Linked DNA regions of Homo sapiens: region 1 is linked to region 2. The links are contacts of gene promoters, found by promoter capture Hi-C in human tissues and cell types (Jung and others, 2019). All regions are on one chromosome and are shown on one strand. Each heading gives the region's core, a stretch centred on a gene start or on the middle of the fragment in contact. The rest is flanking DNA. Distances are from core to core; before and after follow the strand shown. Region 1 overlaps LINC01429 (long intergenic non-protein coding RNA 1429). Region 2 holds the start of SALL4 (spalt like transcription factor 4).

The links. Contacts are between HindIII fragments. The study calls those that stand out against the background at their distance.
Region 1: a fragment that was not itself captured here is called in contact with the fragment with the promoter of SALL4 in region 2 in 4 of the 25 tissues and cell types used here (bladder, liver, mesendoderm cells and 1 more).

What each region holds. Positions count from the first base shown.
Region 1 is chr20:51,845,932-51,849,711 of GRCh38, reverse strand. The region is part of intron 1 of LINC01429 (long intergenic non-protein coding RNA 1429); the gene reads left to right. Among named protein-coding and RNA genes, the nearest start is that of LINC01429, 15 kb to the left of the region's middle. RefSeq lists an enhancer at 2,733-3,233. The HindIII fragment of the contact is 4,103 bases long and covers 1-3,417 here.
Region 2 is chr20:51,801,016-51,805,050 of GRCh38, reverse strand. SALL4 (spalt like transcription factor 4) reads left to right here and starts at 2,530. Exons shown (of 4, transcript NM_020436.5): 1 at 2,530-2,772. The coding sequence starts at 2,643. RefSeq lists enhancers at 2,184-2,825, 3,469-4,035. The HindIII fragment of the contact is 8,319 bases long and covers 1-4,035 here.

The DNA.
Region 1 (3,780 bases), core at 117-2,616, 46 kb before region 2:
ATAGGCAGGAGCCACCGCGCCCAACCTATAAGTCTTTTTAATAACCACTGTCCGGAGGGGACAACCACAGCTACCGTTGCTTTGTGCCACTTGCCTATGTCTTTCCAAATTTATCTTGTGGAACCCCCTCCATATGGGCGGTTACCACCCCTACTTGCCAGGAGGACATGGAGGCCCAGCCAGGTTAAGTCACTTATCCAAGTTCACTGGGACAACCAGAAGTTGCTCTGACTCTACAACCTACATTATTTAAGTTTGTGAAGTCTACAACCTTTCACCTTTGTCGAAAAGCTTGATGGATTTAATATGCTGGATGTATAAACATCTACATACACAGAAACATATGTATAGACATACATATGTAATATAATATAACAATATATGTCATACGTGATATAATATGGCAGAGTAACATAACAAAATTTGAGGAGTTGTTTATTTCACCCAGTCATCTAAGGTAAACAAGGAGACATTCATTGCAACATTCATTAAAACATTCATTGAAAAGTAATTATATAAACTTCCAAATCTAGGCCAGGTGCAGTGGGTGGCTTACACCTGCAATCCGAGCACTTTGGGAAGCCAAGGTGGGGGAGGATCACTTGAGGCCAGGAGTTTGAGAGCAGGCTGGGCAACATAGCAAGACCCTATCTCTAAAAAATATTTTAAAATTAGCCAAGTGCAATGGTGCCTGTCGTCCTAGCTACTCAGGAGGCTGGGACGGGAGAATCACTTGAACCTGGGAGGTCGAGGCTGCAGTGAGCCATGGTTGTGCCACTACACTCCAGCCTGGGCGACACAGTGAGACCCTATCTCATAAATAAATAACAAATAAGAAATATCCAAATGTCCTGGACAAGAGGCAGAGACTTCTCTTGACCCAATAACGGATCCAGAAGAAAATAGCGGAAGCTTCCTATTTTGAAAAATGGGTGGGACTCCAAGTGATATGAAACCTTTCACGTATTCATGAATGCTAACTGGAAAGATAGTTGGGAACATTCCAGAAGGTTATTCCTTCCCTCTTTCTCTCTCTCTTTTTCTCTCTGTCTCTTCTTCTCCCTCTCTCCTTGGGAGATCTTTGATAACCATCTTGGCCTTTGGAAACCTCTTTTATTAAGCCATCCTATTGTATGCTAAGTTATGGTGGCTGAGACTGATCCCTTCACAAAAGTCCTTTGTTTGGGGATTCTCTCAATAAGCTGGGACTCAGTGAATTATGCTTCTTCTTGGAAGCCTTTCTTAGCCGATTGTATTTACCTAAGGAAGCATTATTTTCTGTCTTGTTTTATTTTCCTCTTTTTCTCAAGCGTAATTCAGATATCAGGAAAGCATGAGAGAGATAAAGAAATTACCAACTAACAAGGAGTTTCTGCCTTCTAAGCTTTGAAAATGGTAGAGATTTTTTGTAACAAGCATGTATCACTTACAGAACTTTTTGAAAAATTGTATTTCTTCGGTACCGGGACCTTGTACCAGGAAAGATGTTTCTCCCCCAGCCCTGGAGATGACATGAGATGTTCTCATTCTGACATATTTCCCCTTGTCTGCTGTTCCTAGTCACTTTCATTGTTATTTAGTTTTACTTCAATATTCAGGGGTGGGAAGAAGGAAGAATAAACAGCTCTTTCCTATTCATTATTTTCATCCTAGAATAAGATCTTCATTATTGTAAAAATTAAAAAAAAAGGGGGAGTGCTTTAAAAGTAAAATTAAATTGGTTTTTAGTTTTAGTTTTGGTGCTGTCTTTAAAGAGAACTGGTGGGAACTTTAAGAAAAAAAAAAAAGCCGAGCCACATCAAATGAGAGCAGCAAAGGACGAAATGGCAATAAAGGAAGCATGGGGTGTGTGGGGGGTGTCCCCTCAGGATGGAGAATGTCCCTCTCCTTCCTTGAAAGGCAGCCTTCTTTTCATGGGAAACCAAGCCCCTGTGTTATTGGGCTCACAATGAGTTCTCCAGATGTAGTTCCCAGGAGTAAGGATTCTCAGAGAAATAAAAGAATCCTAGAAGCTTCTGTTTGTTTGTTTTGTTCTTGTTTTAGTAAGATTTTGAATAGGTAATGCATCCAAGTGCTTCAAATAATCACCAAGTTTAACAAATGGTGAAAAGTCTCTTAACCACTGTCCCACAGCCACCCATTTGTTCCCCTTCTCATAGTCAACCACTACTCCTTTATGTTGTATAATATGATACTCAGAGCTACATTGTGCATATACAACCAAATATAAATATGTATTCCACTCCCCGCTCCCTTTCTACACAATTGTCAACATATCATCCAGATGGCTCAGCCCCTTTGTCCTTGCATGAACCATTGCTCTTGGCCATTGTTCCATCTCAACACATATAGAGCTTGATCTTGTTTTTTTTTTTTTTTTTTTTTTGAAACAAGAGTATCGCTCTGTCACCCAGGCTGGAGTGCAGTGGCGCGATCTCGGCTCACTGCAACCTCCATCTCCCAGGTTTAAGTGATTCTCCTGAGTCAGCCTCCTGAGTAGCTGGGATTACAGATGTGTGCCACCACCCCCGGCTAATTTTTGTGTTTTTAGTAGAGACAGGGTTTCACCATGTTGGCCAGGCTGGTCTCAAACTCCTGACCTCAGGTGATCCTCCCACCTCAGCGTCCCAAAGTGCTGGGATTACAGGCACGAGCCACCACGCCCAGCCCTTTGATCTCTCTTTTCTATGACTGTATAGTGTTACGCTGTAAATGTCCTTTATTCTATTTAACCAATTCCCAAATGATGGGCCTTTATTGTTTTTGAGACAGTCTTTCTCTGTCACCCAGGCTGGAGTGCTGTGATGCGATCTTGGATCACTGCAACCTCCACCTCCCAGGTTCAAGCGATTCTCCTCTCTCAGCCTCCCAAGTAGCTGGGATTACAGGCACGCGCTACCACACCCAGCTACTTTTTGTGTCTTTAGTAGAGACGGGGTTTCACCATGTTGGCCAGGCTGGTATCAAACTCCTGACCTCAAGTGATCCGCCTGCCTGGGCCTCCCAAAGTGCTGGGATTACAGGCGTGAGCCACCGTGCCCGGGCTATGATGGGCCTTTAAGTTGTCTTCAATATTGGGCTATTACAAACAGTGCTCCTGTGAATTATCTCGGTTGCACATCATTTCTCACATGTGTGAGTAATTCTGAGGGCACCTCCCCCCAGGAGGAATTGGTAGGTCAAAGAGAGGAGGGACTTGAGATGTCCGTGTTATTTGTAAGATTAGTTTTTTAGGTCCTCAGCTTTATACTATCTTAATATTTAAATTTAAATTACCCAAGTAATGCATTAAGCAGTTCTGTCTGGCCGGGCGCGGTGGCTCACACCTGTAATCCCAGCACTTTGGGAGGCAGACGCGGGCAGATCATGAGGTTAGGAGATGGAGACCATCCTGGCAAACACGGTGAAACCCCGTCTCTACTGAAAAATACAAAAAAAATTAGCCAGGCGTGGTGGCGGGCGCCTAGATCAGTAAATCTAGGTTATCTGGTATATCTGGTAAAATGTGAAAGCCCCCTTTGAATTTCCCACTTACTATTCACCACCACATTCACCTTGAAATCCAAACTTCTCAAAATTAACCACCGTGAGCAGTTTAGTCCAGACTTTTCTATGCATTTATATTTCTATTCATATACACATATCTATGTATGTCTAGGATAATAGATATATTAGATACATAGATAATATATTTATCTACATATATAACACACACAAGTGTTTGTGTGTGTGTAGAAATATAAATATAGACTGGGTGTGGTGGCTCACGCCTATAATCCC
Region 2 (4,035 bases), core at 1,281-3,780:
CTCGAACTCCTGACCTCTGGTGACCCGCCAGTCTTGGCCTCCCAGAGTGCTGGGATTACAGGCGTGAGACACTGTGCTCAGCCTGAAACAACTTTTGATTACGGACTTGCCTGTTGCTATGCCCTCCGTTCATCCCCTGCTTTGCTCTAGGACTTACTTTATTTTCCACCAACTGGCTCCTGGCTGCAGCTGTTAAACTGGGGGTAGATTCAAAACATGTACTGTGTCCTGCTTTTCTTGATATGACATTTGTGGAAGGTTTCCATTTGAGGGAAACTTCTTGACTTCATCTGTTGGAGTGATTTCTGAAGACCCAAGATTTTTCTAGGACACTTTAAATTTAGTTTACTGTACTCCGATTTTTCTTCTTTAGCTATCTTCTCTATATTCAGCTATAGTTGGAAGACAGGTATTAGGATGTGATAGAATTTTGGAGTCAGACTTAGAAACTGACCACCGGCTTAGAAACTGACCACCAGCTCAGCCAGTTTCTAATTAAGTCACTTCATGTCTTTGAGCCTCAGTTTCAAAATGGAGAGGACAATAGGGCCAACCTCCATGGGAAGATAAAACAAGGCGGTGTGCATTCATTTAATGCAGTCTGTGGCATGTACAAGGGGCTCAATCAATTATTATTATTACTATCACTTGGAGAGTCAAGCGGCACAATTTTGTCTCGTAGTAAGGCTAACATGTTACAACTATCATCTACTAAAATAAATATAAACAACTATATAAATGAAATTTTCCTTAACCCAATAGTATTTTTTGAGCCATAAACCCACTGCACATTCGTTTAGATTTGTAAGTTAGATCTCCTGCCACACTATCTTACACAGAAAAGGTGTTGAGAATATTAGTAGATTAGTCAGCAAGGCAGGTGCTAATTGGCCTTTTTACTCAGTATCAGAATTCTAAACTGCTTCTATGTATTATTAAACCAAATTCTTACCTTTTCAATCTGGCTGTTGGCTATAATTCTGTCTTACTTGCTTTAAATATTATACATAAAATAAGGCAAGACTTTTTCAGAGACTCAAAAATTGAAGGTTAATCTTCCTTCAACAAGTTTTTACTGATGGCCACGAATATAAAAAAGATGATCAAGCTGATTTATTTTCTGCCTTGGGTTGTCCAAATACCCAGGTGAACACATTGATGAGCCCAGCATTCCATTTTGCTTGTATTCCTGATGAGTTTACAAGCTGGGAACGTGATGAATAACTAATCAAGAGAATGCAATGCACAAATGTGGAGGGAGGGTTTATATCTGCACAGTCCCTTACAATGAAGTAAATGCCAAACAAAGACGCATGCCCAGAGCAGTTATGGAAAGACCAATCAAAGACTTAGCAGGTTGATGATTTCATCATTCATTTAACATTTATTGAGCATGTACATTGTGTAAAGCAGTTAGCCAAATTAAGTATACATGAATTTACGGTATAAATGTGTATACATGTAATATATCATATACACACACACAAGCCCCACTTTAAAAAATTCCAGGCATCATGTGTCAATGATACAATCACTTTGAACGATACACCTTTTCTGTAATAATGTGTGTATTGCACAAAAAAATTCCAATAGTGATTAGTAACAACCAGATACTGTGACAGTGCCCCATTGCCATTCCATGGGAGATGCAAGAGCATTGTCTCAGTAATAAAATATGATGTTATCAGGCATTTATGGCTCCTGGGGAAAAAAATGCAATTGCTTGCTGTTTTGATATTATCTCTGACTATGCTTGCTTATCATTTGCCATTTCTATATTTAGTAGCCAGTCATTTTGAAGTTAAAAAAAAATCAAGGTTTGCATTGTAACCACAAACCAGTCTTTGTGAACAGGAATCCTGGAGGCTATTAATCAGCTTTTAAAGGAGGTAAGTCATGGTGGTGGTGGGGTATCTGAAATTTTGGAAGTTCCGAGCTCACTTTAAGAGTTGAGATGGGTGGGAGGGCTGAAAACACCACCATTCATCATTCTTCAGTTATCTCGAGACTCAACTTAAACATTTTTAATCAAAAAGATGGGAGGGGACACGGGTCACATCTCAGGTTTGGGGGAATGTGTGTGCGTGTAGATGTGAAAACTGAGCCAAAATATTCCACTGTGAAGAGATCTCCCTTCTCGGCTGGTGGACATCAACCTTACCAAGTAATCTTTGGAGCAAGTAACTACCAAATAAAGCCGTTCCAAAACTTCTACGTAAGCTCCTACTTTTTAATGAGTACGCATTTCTCCCCATTTTCTTTTCCTCTCCAAGGACTGAGATAGCTGGAGCAAGGATGGGTCCCCCTCTGATTTCGTCCCCGCCCCAGCCAATCTGAGCCCGGATGCTAATTAGCTGCGCTCCCCTGATGAACACGCCTTTGTCACAAGTAGGCCCGGACTACAAAGCCCAGAATGCCTCACCCCTCCCTGATCAATGAGGGCTTATTTAAATGATCTCTGAGGTCTTGGACCCAGGCCAATCAGCTGTCAGGGCTCATGATAAATCGCAATGCATTATTGATAATAATAATTACTGGGACATGCGCGTTCCGGCCGAAGGGGGGTAAATTTCCCAACTCCAGGAATTTGTGGCGGAGAGGGCAAATAACTGCGGCTCTCCCGGCGCCCCGATGCTCGCACCATGTCGAGGCGCAAGCAGGCGAAACCCCAGCACATCAACTCGGAGGAGGACCAGGGCGAGCAGCAGCCGCAGCAGCAGACCCCGGAGTTTGCAGATGCGGCCCCAGCGGCGCCCGCGGCGGGGGAGCTGGGTGAGTGGGGCTGGGGCGCCCGCCCGGGGAGGGGAGCTTCCCGGACGTACGCGGGATCCTCGAGGGCGCAGGCTTCGGGGAGCGGGCGGCGTCCAGCGCAAATTCAGGAGCCGAGATTTGGGGGCTCAGTGCCCGGGAGGAGAGGTCTCCTCCTCTCCCCACCACCCCGCCTTTTGCACATTTCACACTTTTTTCCTCTTCTCCCCTCTTGTGTAAGTTTCACCCCCAGCTTTCTCCCCTAATTGTAAAATTGACCCCCACTCGCTCCTCTGTTCTCGCTCCCGAAAGGTTCCCTTCTCCTTGTCCTCTGCCCCTCACTTAATTGGTTCCACTCCCCTCACTGGTGTTACCCCCCCCCCTTGTAACTTAGGTCCCCCTCCCTCGCGTCGCTCTCAAAAGAAAGAACCCCGGGGGATCCCCACCCTCTCCACCAGCCCCTTGGGGCTTTTCTTGGAGGCTGGAGGAGGGGCGCACCCCTGGAAGACCCCCCGGAGGAGGACGATCTGTTGCACGCGCCCCTCCCGGGCCAAGTGGGGGGAGGGGGCGCGACCTCTCCCCACCCTCAGGAGCTGGGGTGCGGGCCACCCGCGCTGCGCAGGGGATTGGAGGGCCCAGAGAGGTGGGGGAGGAGGGCTCAATGTTTCCCTTTAAAATTTTTTTCTTTTCTGGATTTCGCCTTTTCTGCCCGGGCTGCGCCGCCTGCCGATCTTCGCCCTAACCTTTCGGGGCCTGACCTCCAGCCATCTTTGATTTCCGACTTCCTAAAAATAACCGCGGCAAGCCCGAGGGTGCGAGCCCCCAGTGGCCGGGGTGGCGGGCGCGCGGCAGCCCCACTGGGGTGCACCGGCCTCCCGTTTTGCGTGGCTTTTCTGGAGCGCTCGGCTTTCCACATTTGCGCTTGGGTGTGAAAGGGGAGAGGTGGGGGGCCAGAGCGAACTCCCGCGGCTGACCTGGCCCACGCTTCCGCGGCCAGCGTTTCCCAGATCGAGGGGAGTTCGGGACCCCAGCCGCGCCAGGAACGGCGGGGCCAACTCTGTTCCCACTTCATCACTTCACCGCGGAGGTTTTAGGAGCGAGGCGGTTTTCCACTATCTCGTCTCCATCCCGGCCCGCCAAATTGTCGCCTGATAAGTTTTTAGCGTGCGCGTGGGGGGAGGGGGGATTTGTAGCCTCCTCTCCGGCCTTGTTCGTCGCTCCGCTCCCCGCCTGCTTTCTAATTTCCCTGCAGCAGACGGGTGTGCGCGGCAACCCCGGAGGACTCTC